2 separate regions of the Homo sapiens genome follow, and region 1 is linked to region 2. The links are contacts of gene promoters, found by promoter capture Hi-C in human tissues and cell types (Jung and others, 2019). All regions are on one chromosome and are shown on one strand. The core of a region is centred on a gene start or on the middle of the fragment in contact, and the rest is flanking DNA. Distances in the headings are between cores, read along the strand shown.

Evidence for each region. Contacts are between HindIII fragments. The study calls those that stand out against the background at their distance.
Region 1: a fragment that was not itself captured here is called in contact with the fragment with the promoter of KCNJ13 in region 2 in 1 of the 25 tissues and cell types used here (spleen).

The regions. Positions count from the first base shown.
Region 1 is chr2:233,081,277-233,088,689 of GRCh38, forward strand. All of the region lies in intron 2 of INPP5D (inositol polyphosphate-5-phosphatase D), which reads left to right. Among named protein-coding and RNA genes, the nearest start is that of INPP5D, 25 kb to the left of the region's middle. RefSeq lists enhancers at 428-517, 1,028-1,177, 3,548-3,597 and a silencer at 3,263-3,557. The HindIII fragment of the contact is 4,211 bases long and covers 220-4,430 here.
Region 2 is chr2:232,771,930-232,778,509 of GRCh38, forward strand. KCNJ13 (potassium inwardly rectifying channel subfamily J member 13) reads right to left here and starts at 4,636. Exons shown (of 3, transcript NM_002242.4): 1 at 4,516-4,636. All of the region lies in intron 8 of GIGYF2 (GRB10 interacting GYF protein 2), which reads left to right. The HindIII fragment of the contact is 9,389 bases long and covers 1,425-6,580 here.

The DNA of each region.
Region 1 (7,413 bases), core at 1,075-3,574, 310 kb after region 2:
ACCATTTTTTTCAAGTCTAGGAGGGCATGAGCTTTTCTGGCAGAGTTGGCATCTGTGATAGGTGGTTTGCTGAGAGGAGTCGGCAAACTCTCTTAAGTTAAAAGTTGGTCGATGCTTTTGATCTTTTTTCCCTTTGTGGTTTCTTCTCTTCCTTCAAAGTGAAGAAAACTTTAAGTATGACTGGAAAAGACATGACTCTGTGGCTTCTAGTAGAGTCGGCACCCGCCGCCTGTAAATGTGTAGACTGCGTCTCCGGTTTGCCCCTCTCTGTCACCATCATACTCTTGCTACTGTGACATCTTGTGACCCTGGGAACTGCTGATGAAATCCGGGGCCTCATCAGGCTACTGGGCAGGGGGTGGTGGTGGTGCAGGGAACAGAAACTCGCCTTGGCTGACTCTGTAAGGGGTAAGGGGTGGGCAGCCTTTGTGGAGATGTGCAGAGCCAGGAAGGAGAAGGCCGCCCTAGGGCCTTGGAACCAGAAGAGCATGGGGTCTGCACGCAGCTTCTCCCATGGATCAGCTCTTCTCTGTGGGGCCGCTCTTCCCAGCCAGCAGCCTCCCTTCTCAGTCCCCAGTCCTAAGAAGGAGTCTGATGGCTCAGCCTCCACGGCTTTCTCCGCATGAGCCACTCAGGGGCTGCCAGTCTGTGTATGAATCGGCTGTCTTGGAGCAGGTACCCCCCTCTGCCTCTCAGAGATGGGGACAGAGTCGTGGGGGCAGCGTGCCTCCTTAAGGTCTCCGCTTAGCCAGGACAGTGGGCGGGCAGCTTTCAGAGAAGATGGGCGGCTCTGCTGGACTTCTCTGCTCCTGACCCCGGCACTAGATCTGTGACCTCCGCAGTAGCTGACATGGTACAGGGAGCTGTGGACCTAGGTGGTCTGAAGAGGTTTTCCTTCAAGGTGAATTAAAGGGGAATTCTCATAGGATTCTCCCAGGTGGACTCACCTTCGAAAATCTACCTCCAAGAGTAAATGACAGCAGACGTCCACTGAGGACCAAGTGCACACTCATGCCCAATTAAGCAGACTCAGAGCCCTTCGGGGAAGCTTTAGCAGTTATTGATCTCTGCCTATTTTAACTCAAGTTCCTCTTTTCATGTTGAGGCAAAACCTCACAGTCTTTTCTGAGCTTAGCCACAGTTTCTAAATAACTCATTCCTGACACCTGAGCCTGTTCAGTGCCACCAGAATACGAGGCTCCCCAAAATAAGAATCTGGCCTGAAATTTTGCCAAGTGAAGCACCGAAAGGCTTTCATTGTTTCTTAGTTTAGTAACTTTAGCTCTTTTCCTGGGGACTTCTGTTCTCTTGTCAACACCAAAGATCTCATCTTTGTTCTTTGCAGACCAACTTCATGGAGTTGGCCCACGTGTCATAGCCCATGACAGCCCTGTATCAATCAGGGAGAGGAGCTGCCTCACCTGGGGGACTCTTTTCTCTCACTCCATCTTTCACAGACTTAAAAAAAATCCGAGATGGGAGGGCAGGATGCAAACTGTAACTTCATCCAACCCCCTCGTTCTAAATATGAGTGTTGCTGAGAACTGCGGAAGTTGGAACTCACAGCCAGGCCTCCCGGCCTCCCCGGCTAAGCTTTCTTCCTTCCAATCCAGAAGGTGTTTCCAAGCCTGTCTGGAGTCCCCTGGGGAAGGATGAGCCCAGGACTCTGCCCAGAGGGACAGGGAGACAGGGCAATGTGGCCTCTCAGAGAGCTTGGCCTCTTGCCCTTCACATGGTTATAGATAATATTTGATCCCAGGTGGCATCTGTCCCTTGTGGTAAATCAGTGAGGTGCCCCTAGAATGAAAGCAGACTCCATTCCCGGCTGGGATCTGGGTTCAAGTCCAATTTGGTCAGCGATGTGGCCTTGGGCAAGGACTGCCAAGAAACTGCTGGAAAGTAGAGATCACACACATACCTCCCAGCACAAGGAAGCTGCTGGGGAGGAGGGTGGAGACAGCAGGGAGCTGGAGGTGCTTTAGAGCATTCTAGGCAGTGCTGGGAGTGGTGGGGAAGGAGGGGTAAATTTTGGAACTCCATCTCCCTCAGCTCTGCTCTTTGGGCTATGGGCTTCATGTCTTCAGGGACCTGAGTACGCTCTGGAACTGTTAAGCAGTTGTTCAACAGCTGCTGTGCCACTCAAACCCTGAGAACCTTCTGGACTCAGCTTGCACTGCTTTTCCTGGTTGGGGGAGGGTTGGGGCAGTGCTCTGAGCCCTGTGTGAGGCCAGACGAAGGCAGAACGGCTCAGCCCCGCAGGCCTGACTGTCCCACACCAAGAGAGTGGGTTTCTTGTAAAGCCAAAACTCCTTTCTTGACTTGGAAAGGGAAGTGACTCTCCCCTAAGAGAAGCGGTGCCTATCTTGAGCTGCTCGCTGCAGACTGAGCTGGGAGGCTGCTGCTGCCTTTGAAATGGCCCCTCTTTGGGAAAGTAAGGAAGAGTCTGAGGTCCTGCAAGCCGCCCTCATGGGCCAGCTCCAGGGTGGCCAGGGAGGCCTGGAGTGGCCTCAGACGTGTCGCATAAATGGCTGTCTCAAACCTAGGGCCACAGTTGAAGCAAAAGAGGCCCTTCGGCTCCACCCTACAACCTTTTGGCCCTTGCGTCCTTTCTAACATCCTTCCCACCGAGAGGAATAAAGCAGAAAATTAGAACTACCCATAATCCCCTATCACATCAATGTTCTCTGTGAACTTCCTGTCTTTTCTTGAGGTTGAGATTGTATCTAGGATATTGATTGTTTCAGTCAAGATGGGAGCACCCCCAGGTGTTTTTCTGTTTTGTTTTGTTTTGTTTTTGAGACAGGGTCTTGTTCTGTAGACCAGGCTGGAGTGCAGTGGCGCGACCTCGGCTCACTGCAACCTCTGCTCCCAGGCTCAAGCAATTCTCCCACCTCAGTCTCCTGAGTAGCTGAGATTACAGGTGTGCACCACTATGCCCAGCTAAATTTTGTATTTTTCTGTAGAGATAGGGTTTCACTATGTTGCCCAGGCTGGTCTCAAACGCCTGGGCTCAAGTGATCCACCCGCCTCAGCCTCCCAAAGTGTTGGGATTACAGGCGTGAGCCACCATGCCCAGCCACACTCCCAGGTTTTCATGCAAGTTTAGATGAAGAGTTAGAAAATATCTATCTCATAGACCCTTTCATTATTCTTTCCCGATTTGGAAGAAAAAATCCAGTGGTCTGAGCCATTCCGGTGAGTTCTAAAGAAGAGACACTTGTGACTCAAGTCCCTGGTCCCTGACGGTGGCTGTCACGTATCTCCGGGCGACATGGCTTTTGGAGAGGGAAAACAAAACAACTTTCTAAAAGCTGTTCCGTCACAAGCATCCGGGAGGTGAACGGTTGAGCCATTGTTATTAAGCTCAGGAAGCGAGTGGCAGCTGTTATTGTTCTGAGTGGTCACTGAGTGAAGTAAAGATTCCGTCTGAGCCGCCGGGCAAAGGATGTGGCTCTAACACACTTCCTGAAGTTGCACAACAAGGGGCACAGAAAAGGTTCAGGGCATAGAAGCCTAGCACGGCCAGGGCTGCCCTGTGTGGGCTCCACAGCCATGCCAAGGACAATGGGCCCCAAGGGGGTCCGTGCTGGTGGAGGGGTTCCTTTATGCTCTGACACTCACCTTCTAGAAGCCTGCATTTTGAATTGGTTTTTCTGTCTACTGCAGAATATGGACAGATCTATTTTCCAAGCCTCTGAATATCTCAAAACATCTTTAGTTGTCTACACATTCAAGAGTAATTTGATAGATATAAAATTCTTGGAACCAACTGTTCGCTCAAAATCCTGTAAAAGGTACAGCACTACCTTCAAGAATGTAGTGTTACAGGCTGGGTGCAGTGGCTCACTCCTGTAATCCCAGCACTTTGGGAGGCTGAGGCAGGTGGATCACCTGAGGTCAGGAGTTTGGGACTAGCCTGGGCAACATGGTGAAACCCCGTCTCTACTAAAAATGCAAAACTTAGTCGGGTGTGGTGGTGCATGCCCGTAGTCACAGCTACTCCGGAGGCTGAGGTGGGAGGATCGCTTGAACCTGAGAGGCAGAGGCTGCAGCGAGCTGAGGTCTCACCACTGCACTCCAGCTGGGTGACAGAGCAAGACTGTCTCAAAGAAAAAAAAAAAAAAGAATGTAGCGTTATGAATAGTTCCGAGTACAAAATCCAAGGCCAAACTTGTGCTGGTTCCTATAGAGGCGACCCATTTTTTTCTTTTTTTCTACTTTGAAGCCGGTGGGAATTCTTTTCCAGTGTTGTCATTTTCCTTTCATTGATAGTACCTGCAATGTGTTCGGCTTGTTCACTTTGCAAACTCTGTTCTTTGACACAAAAGACCTTTCTTCTGTTAGGTCTTTGAGTAAGTTTTTATTCCAGCTCTTCTGGCATCTTTCTTCTAATCCCCTGAGAAAGCCAAGCCTCCCCCCGTTTTCTAGCCCCCTGGGGTACACATGCCTTTGTGACTGAGCAGCCCCTCCCTCTTGTGTGGCTGCAAGATCCCTAATCCCTTCCCCAGTCTGTCAGAGAATTCTGGAAAGAGTATCCATGCCATTTGTCATCTCTACCTCCAAATGACTGTCTTTATTTTCTCCCCATCCCCACTAGCCATTTTGTCCTTGTTTCTCCATGTTCCAGAGCCTTCTGGTTCACCTTGCCCCAGATCATGGGCCTGTTTCCTGTCTTTGTTACCCAAAGCGGTCTAGAACTAACATCAACATGCACCATGTAGCCGATAAGTTTAGACTGGGGAATGGGATGCAAGTGTAACCAATGAGATGTGAAGAGAAGGGCTTTGTGGGCTTCTAGTAAAGGTCTGTTTGTCTTAAAAACAGACATAGGGATAAGATAGCCTCTTTCTTTCTTTCTTTCTTTCTTTCTTTCTTTCTTTCTTTCTTTCTTTCTTTCTTTCTTTCTTTCTTTCCTTTTTGAGACAGAGTTTCGCTCTTGTTGCCCAGGGTGGAGGGCAATGGCATGATCTCGGCTCACCACAACCTCCGCCTCCTGGGTTCAAGTGATTCTCCTGCCTCAGCCTCCCAAGTAGCTGGGATTACAGGCACCTGCCACCATGCCGGGCTAATTTTTGTATTTTTAGAAGAGATGGGACTTCACTATGTTGGTCAGGCTGGTCTCGAACTCCTGACCTCAGGTAATCTGCTCGCCTTGGCCTCCCAAAGTGCTGGGATTACAGGTGTGAGCCACCGCACCCAGCCAAGATAGCCTCTTTCCTACCTTTGGAAGCTGCCATAGGATGTGATAGCTGGGTCTCTGCTGCTGCCTTGTAACCATGAGGAGAGGTAGCTGGCGAGTGAGGCCAACACACGGAAAGGAGAAGTGAACCTGGGTCCTGGATGATGCCCTTGAATTTGCTGAACAGAATGAAGCAACCTGGGATCTGCCCTCCTCTAGATTTTCTGTTTTGTGAGTTAATTAATTTCTTTTTGCTCAAGTTAGTTGAGTTAGGGTTTTCTAACAGCTAAAAGTGTCCTAACTTACAAAGGTTTAAACTATCCCAGGGGAATTTCAAAGCAGAAAAGTGAAAATTTCAAATTGAATATCGAGTTTCACTGCACCAAATGCCCATGAGCCACGGTCTGACAACACAGTCTCTGGGTCTTCCTTCTCCTTAGCCTGTGTCGTGTTTCTGGGACCTGCTCCAGCCCTGTCCCAGACATTCCTAATGACTTATGTTCCTGTCAGACATCCTTGGGCTCAACATCTCTTTCTCTAACCCTGACCAGAAAAAGCACAAAAATCAATCAGTATTTTAACAATGTCTGTGCACTGGGGAGGCATGATTTCTTGCTTATTGCAGGATGGTTTCGCTTCTCATCTTGACTTTGCCCTTCGAGATCAGCTTCCGGGTCTAATTGTGTCTGTCAGATTTGCAAGAGGCCACTTCGGGTTTGCCAAATAGAAGAAAGTCTTTCTGAGAGGCCTCACTTGATCACCCCAGAAAAATAGTCACCCCACCCTTCACCTGTTGCTCTTTAACCCCTTACCCTCCTTTCTTTTCTTTGTGGCACTTGTGACTACCTGATTTTATATTATATTTATTTATTTATTTATTTTTTTGAGACGGAGTCTCACTCTGTCACCAGGCTGGAGTGCAGTGGCACAATCTCGGCTCAGCTCACTGCAACCCCTGCCTCCCGGGTTGAAGTGATTCTCCTGCCTCAGCCTCCCGAGTAGCTGGGACTACAGGCACATGCCACCACACCCAGCTAATTTTTGTGTTTTTAGTAGAGACAGGGTTTCACCATGTTGCCCAGGATGGTCTCGACCTCTTGACCTTGTGATCTGCCCGCCTCAGCCTCCCAAAGTGCTGGGATTACAGGTGTGAGCCACCATGCCCAGCCCTGAGGTATTTGAAAATATACATTTTTATATTGACTTATTTATCATCTATACTAGAACTATTCCTAGCATGTAGTGAGTGCTTGATAAATACTTATTGAATGAATTAACTCTTCTGCCACCATTAAGAAGATAGAAAGTGCTACAGGTTTCACTTAAAATTATGATTTATCTCACCCTTGCTGTAGTCATCAATCTTAAATTTGTCCTCCACAGGATCCGCCGTTATCTATTGACTTGCTTTTCATGCCTTGGTCAACTTCCTCTGCATTCGAGACGGGTTCTCTTTTCTGGACTCAGTTCTGCTGTAGCTCCCTCCAAAGTGGATCCTCATTTCAGCATTGAATTGAGCTCCTCATTTTTTTTTTCTTGAGACAGTGTCTCGCTCTAGCCCCCATGCTGGAGTGCAATGGCAAGATCTCGGCTCACTGCAAACTCTGCCTCCTGGATTCAAGCGATTCTCCTGCCTCAGCCTTCCAAGTAGCTGGGATTACAGCCATGCACCACCACCCCCGACTAATTTTTTGTATTTTTAGTAGAGACGGAGTTTCATCATGTTGGCCAGGCTGGTCTCAAACTTCTGACCTTGTGATCTGCCCGCCTCAGCCTCCCAAAGTGCTGGGATTACAGGCATGAGCCACCAGCCCCGCCAAGGTTCTCATTTTGTTGCAAGCCTGCCTTGCCTGGCTGATCTTCATGTTTCACTGGCCCTGTTGTCTGTTCATCTTTCTCCTCTTCCTGGGATTTTCACTCCTGGGTCATAAAGGCCTTGCCTTTTGACGTCCACGTGAGGCTGCCGATGCTTCCCGAGATGTCCCGAGACAAGTTCCAGCAGCCACATTTCCAGAGAAGGCTCTTCCTCGGGTCTTCAGGGTGGTGTAATGTCCTAGTTCCCTCGGGGAAGCAGTTTCTTCTCTCAAGCTTCTGTTTCCTCCTCAGAAACAGTGGGAGGCCAGCAGTACTTCTCTCCTGTGGAGATTTTGAGGACTAAAAGAGATGGTTTATGTAAACATGCAGCTCATGTCTGACACGTGACTCCATGGATGACTGTTTTAAAATGGCGAGGA
Region 2 (6,580 bases), core at 3,386-5,885:
TAGAGGTTTGTAGTTCTAATGTATGCTTTATAATTAGCCTATTCAGAGTTTGATTTATTGATTTGTATTTTTAGAGACAGGGTCTTGCTCTGTCTCCTAGGCTGGAGTGCAGTGGCACAATCATAGCTCACTGCAACCTCAGCAAATTTTTAGAATTTTAATTTTTGTTGGTACTGGGCTCAATATATTGCCTAGGCTGGTCTCAGACTCCTGTTCTCAAGCCATCTTCCCACTTCAGCCTTCCAAAGCGCTGGGATTACAGGGGTGAGCCACCATACCTGGTCTTATTTAGAGTTTTATGATTAGGCTTTATTTGTTTTTGTCACTTTGCAACCATGTTCGTGGATTCTTTCTGTCCTGGATGATGGATTGCTATCTCTTTGCATATTCTAGGCTCTGATTAGATTGGGGGGTAGAAAGAGAATTGTTTCTTGGCAAAATAAGAAATTCCAGGAAGACATTTCTGGATAGCATTAGCTTTAAAAGTAAGTAAACTAGAAGAAAAAGGTTGAATAGTTCAATGAACTAAAATAATCATTAAGGGGTTAAATAAGAATTTTAAAAAGATAACATTAGTATAATTAGTTTTCTGCTGCAAACAGTTTTCATCAGTGGTTATCCTTTTCTCAAGGTGGTGAGTAGAAATCTAATGTGTGCCTTCCTTGTAATCATCCTTGCGTATGACAAAGGTGTCTTAAGACTTTAGTGTAGCAGTTACTAGGAACAGAACAGGAAATGCAGCTTTGCTTCCCTTGAGTGAGCCTCTCTTGTTTGCTACAATTCAGGACTATGAGTTTATATTTGACTGTCCTCTTTGCTTCTTCCTTTAGAGGTAGATACCCTTGAGAGTGCTGCATACCCACTTCCTGCCTTTTAATGGGGCTTGAGAAGGGCACTACAGACTTGTGGAGCTAGGTTGTTGCTTGGGTTTCCTAGTTCCTATATCTCGGGACTTTGAGGCTTTGGAGACTGCCTTTCTGTGTTGTTGGAATTGGATATTGGCCACCTGGGTATATACAACTTTCTTTTGCTCTGAGGTAACTTAACATTTATTGGTGATTAGAGACTTTTTTTTGTATTTTCTTCAGATTTGAGCTAATGGAACACTGGGATGATTGTTCAGTTTATTTAGGTTAGATGGCGATTTCAGTTTCATATGATATAGACTTTAAAAAATCTTAGTGCATTATTTTAATGTTTTATAACTTATTACCCTAACAAGTTGTCATAATCATTTAGTGTATTCTTTTTTCTTGGCATAGCTACTTAATGACCCTTATTTTGTTAGATTATTTTTAAATGTTTTAGGAGACCTGATCTCTACGCTTTGGAAACAACAAAATCTTCATAGGCACTGTGATAACTGCTTTCATACTGTATTATCTCTTAATTCTTCAGTATCTCAACAAGATAGCCATTGTTCCCATTTTCAGATGAAGTCACTGGTGCTCAGACAGATAAAAGAAATTTACACAAGGCAAATAGGAGCTTTGGATTATTTGGATGGTTATTCAAGTCTAGCTAACTTCAAAGCCAGTTAATTTTTTTTTTTAATACAGGAAGCGTTTGGTGAAATAACAGTCTTTCCAAAAATGATTGATATTGCATTCTCAAGAAGGTCTTTGATAGCCAAATTTCTAGCACCTTTAGTAGATGCCTTTCTTGCCCCTGAAACTGTCTCAAGTATCTGTATTAAACCATTGTTAACTTTGTTCATGATTCTTTAGATAGTAATGATTAATAATATTAGCTAATATATATATTGTTTAGCATGTGCCAGGAATCATACCAAATACTTCATATGTACAAACTGATGTGAAGCCAGTGGCACAGAGTAAGCTCTCAGTAAAGTATTAGTTGCTTTATTGTTATTAAAAACGTGTCTGGCTCCCAGCACTTCGGGAGGCCGAGACAGGAGGATTGCTTGAGTCCAGGAGTTAGAGACCAGCCTAGGCAACGTAGTGAGACTTTGTCTCTATTTAAAAAAAAAAAAAAAAAAAAAAAGGTGTCTTAAGTTTCACAGTAATAAGTATCACTATTAGTCCCATTTTACAGATAACGAAAGTGAGGAACCAGGCATGGTGACTCATGCCTGTAACACTAGCACTTTGGGACGTTGAGTCGGGAGGATTGCTTGAGGTCGGGAATTCAAGACCGATCTGGCCAACATAGCGAGACCCTGTCTCTAAAAGAAAAAAAAAAAAGAAAGAAAATGAGGTATAATGAGGTAGTAAGTGGTGGATATGAATATTATACATTCTGAGTCCAGAGTTAGTGCCATATTGCCTCCAAAACAGATGTTTGACCCTGCTTAGCCTTTGTGAATAATACAGTTTCATTTGATTAGTTTTGTTCAAGAGCCGCTCCAGAGTGTTTGTTCTTCAGTAATGTTTATTGGGTTCAGACCTATTATTTGTAGGTTAGAAACAGATATTCAGTTAGGAAAGACTTCTTTCAAGACTTGAAGATTATCACAGTCTGAATTATTAGATAGTCCAGTTGTGTTTTGCACATCAGTAAAATTAAAGCAATGTAGAGAGGAGAGTTATGACATAACATTGCCAAGTTTCTGTTTTGCCAGATGAGAAGACAATTTTACAAGTATAATACTGTCATTATAAATAAAATTATGATGACATAATAAAAGATTTTGACACATGGAAGAAGGATATAACAATGAAAGGATAGTTGGTTGCCTTCAAAATGGTGGGTGAACAACTTTGTCATTCTCCACTGTTGTTGCTTCCTGCCTATGTGAAAATGCCCCTCATGCTCCTGGACACTAGTGCTTGTTCCACATTTGGAGCCACTGTCCTACTGAATGCTGCTAAGTGCTTAGTGTTTCACAAAAGCTTGAGAAAGAAAAAACTCCATGATTCTTTTGTATTTTCAACCTATTTTATGAAAGTTCTAAAATTCCTTACTTAGAGCCTTTCTGTATAGACTGTAGCTAACAAAATTCATCATTCTCATTTGGGCTTTTTCAGGACTGTTGTTACTTCTTACCTACAACTTTTGTAGCACTCTTACTCTAGGCTCTTTACAATTGTATTTTTTTTCTCTTGCAACTAAATACATGGAAAAACCTGTGAACAGGGAAGTCAAAAGGCTGATAATCGGAACAGTTAAGCAGCATTTTTTTTTTTTTAACCTAAGACTGCTGGATTTGGTTTGGATTGTGTTGGCAAGTGGAGTAATATAGAGAAGGAAGATTGATTTCTGATTCCCACTTAACCAATTACCCTGAATAACTATTCTGTGGACTCTTATAGTCAGTGTGGTTTAGTGTAGAGAACGCAGGATAAGGGGATATGGCCTTCAGGCTCTAGCACTGTTGGTTACATAGCTGTGTCATTTTGGGCAAACCACTCAATCCCATTGGCCTGGCATCCTTAGATTAAAACAAAGAAAGTGAAAAAAGAGGGAATTATGATAATAAGATTTCTTAAAGCTCTACAGACTTATGTAAACAAACATATTTCCACTTCCTACAAAGGATACAAGTTTCCTATATGATTTCTTTTATTTCTGTATAGTTTGATGTCTGCTCGTATGGTTTAAAAAATTATACTATTGTTACCTGATATTTAAGTCTCATCAGCTGATCCCAATAGAAAGTGAGGTGGAAGGTTGGGAAGGTTTGCTTCTATTGCTGTGTGTGGGCTGTAAAATATTTGCCCATTTATAAATTATTTGGAGGAAAAATAGTACCTATTAAAAAATGATAGGCAGCTTCACTGATCATCAGAATTCATTCTACTCATTGGGTTGTAGCACTTAAAAGTATGTATTTTCTGTTGCCATGATAAAAAATAGTATAGTTCATACTGAGGAGTTAAGATAAAGGCTATAACTAACAAACATTAAATGAAGATGGCATTACTATGTATTTGTTCATGTCTGGTGTAAATACTTTAAGACTATATTGAAAGTCTTATAATGATTTCTCCTGCCCTCCACAATTAGGGCAAACACTATTGAGTTCTAACCCTGTTATATAAGCTCAGAGATTCTATTTTAATTTCTCAGTTGCAGAAGTATCTATTAATTTCCGCAATAATTCCATGCTTAAAAATTTACGATTAGGATACTCATCACTTTCTTCTTAGATTACAGAAGTAAAAACAAAGTGGCTTATTCTTTTGGCATTTGTTTTTTTATGCTCATTTTGGGTTTTTGAAATTCCTTCCAAAAGAAAAAGACTTTTTTTTTCCTCAAGCCACTGAATTTTTTTTCCTAAGGCCTTTATCCTCTACTGATATATTGTAATAGAAAATTAGTATACATTTAATAAAACAGTTAAGAAAATTTCCAGTAATACATTCAATATGGCTGTTATTGCATTTTTAAGATTTAAGGGAAAAGAATATAGAAACCTTACTATCCTACACTATAGATAATGTCTTTGTTTTAAAAATCTGTTGGAAGTAATCTAGCTCTGTTGCTATTTGCCAGTCAGTTTCTTTCCCTGTTTCCCATAAGGAAAGAAGAATGGATATTATTGCATGTACTCACCAGTTCTTTTGCTGGGTCAGCCTTTATGCCAAGGTAGGTCTTAAGGAAATTTACAGAGTCTGCCTTTTTGATCAGATAATTTTAATCTACAAGTCTAGTTTGTAGGTTCTCTTCTTGGACTGGTTTTACAGCTTACATTCCTCTGTTTATAATGTTGTGGGGGCTGGTTTCAGCTGAGGTTGATGTGATTGGTCACTTAGCCTGCAGGGGGGCCAATTAGCTCTGATCATGTGGAAAAGAATGCTGGTTTGTTAGGAGGTCTTTCTTTACCCAACACAAACCTTAACAACTCTGGAGAAAGCCTCCAGAACTGACTTGGAGAAGGGGTGCATTTTTTCCCTCTAATCAGGACCGGTCTTTAGTAAGTTTGCATAATCTTACTTAAGAGTTTTTTTGAAAGTTCAAAGGGATAAAATTCCCTGCAAGATTTTTCAGCCGTCTTTCCTTATATAGCATGTTGAAGTGTGAGATATTTCCTTTACTAATCTTTTTTTTTTTCCACCATGTCTTTGGGGAAGATTTATTTGGATAAGGACTTATAGGCATAAATTAATGCATTGATTTTCTTAGTTTTCTTCTCATGTCTCATCAGAATGGCTACCATTAGTTCCAGAACTAGTAATATAGATAATTACGTGAAATCTTTTATTTTTTTGGTTAGGAAACAAACTTTTTTTTTTTAAAGGCTGTATACAAAGACCTTGAATAGGAATAAAATTAATTGTTCTGTACCTGATACTTTAAAAAATGCACACCTGTGGGAAAGAACCGAAGAATTTTCTTAAGGCTTATTTTAATGATGTTTAGAAGATGTTTTCCTGATCAGTGTGATGAAGTATAGTGTTAATAAAACATAGTGTACAGTGTACAGAAAATGTAACACAACATTGAAATAGTGTTTAGCTGGAAAATGTGATCCAGCTTGTTGGAACCCTGAAACGTGCTGTGGTATGGCTTTGTGCAGTGCCTTAGTGAACAGTACTTTTCTCCTCCTCCGTTAGCTGCTGATTTTAAAACTTTGACCAAATGTCACATGTAAGAGGATCTGAGAAACAAAGACTGTGATTGTTCAAAGTAAAATCTTGGAAGGCCTGCTGGGAAAATTATTAATGTAGACCAATATAATGCTACTTAGAAAGTGAAATCCGCCTTTGTAGAATCCTCTCCGTCCCCCCCCCGCCCCACAATTTAAAAAATATATTAATTCCTTCTTTGTTTTATTAGTACCAAATACTTCAACACAAGTTCAGACACAGCATTAGAAACACTGACCTTCAGAACTAGGGAAGGTAAAGTATAAAGAAGGATTTGTGGTGTGATGCTCATTCCCTGCATGTACTGGTAGGAATTATAATGTGTATCAATTCCCAGCTAACAAATTGCAGAAAAACAGAACAACACAACAACAAAATACTAGAACAAGTATAGTATAATACTGCTTCTAGAAAGCAGAAGCACTTGAGTGTATCTGTCATGTGTTTTGAATATACATTGTATATTTTTTATTTTCATTTTTTTTAGACATAGAGTCTTGCTGTGTCACCCAGGCTGGAGTGCAGTGGTGTGATCACAGCTCACTGCAGCCTCGACCTCCCAGGCTCAAGTGATCCTCCCACCTCATCCCCCACCCCCTGCAGTAATGCCACCACATCTGGCTAATTTTTTATTTTTTGTAGAGGCAGGGTCTTGCTGTGTTGTCTAGGCTGGTCTTGAACTCCTGGGCTCAAGCTGTCCTCTCAATTCAGCCTCCCAAATTCCTGGGATTACAGGCATGAGCCACTTCACCTGGCCTGAGAATACATATTATAGTAGGCAAGACAGTTAAGGATTTTATTAAACTTAAAAGTCTTTTTCCATAGTATACTTGGTTTCAATATATTGAGACAAAAATGATTTGGCAAAATGATCTTCAATTAAGAAAGAAATGTCTTAAGTGAAGCTAATTTCTGGATCTCTACAATTTGAAAGTCTTGCTATGGTCTATAAACAGTGATTCCTACTGCTGTGAATATTGTAGACCAGCTCTGAAGTGCCCACTTAGGAGCATAGCTCTCCCATTACAATA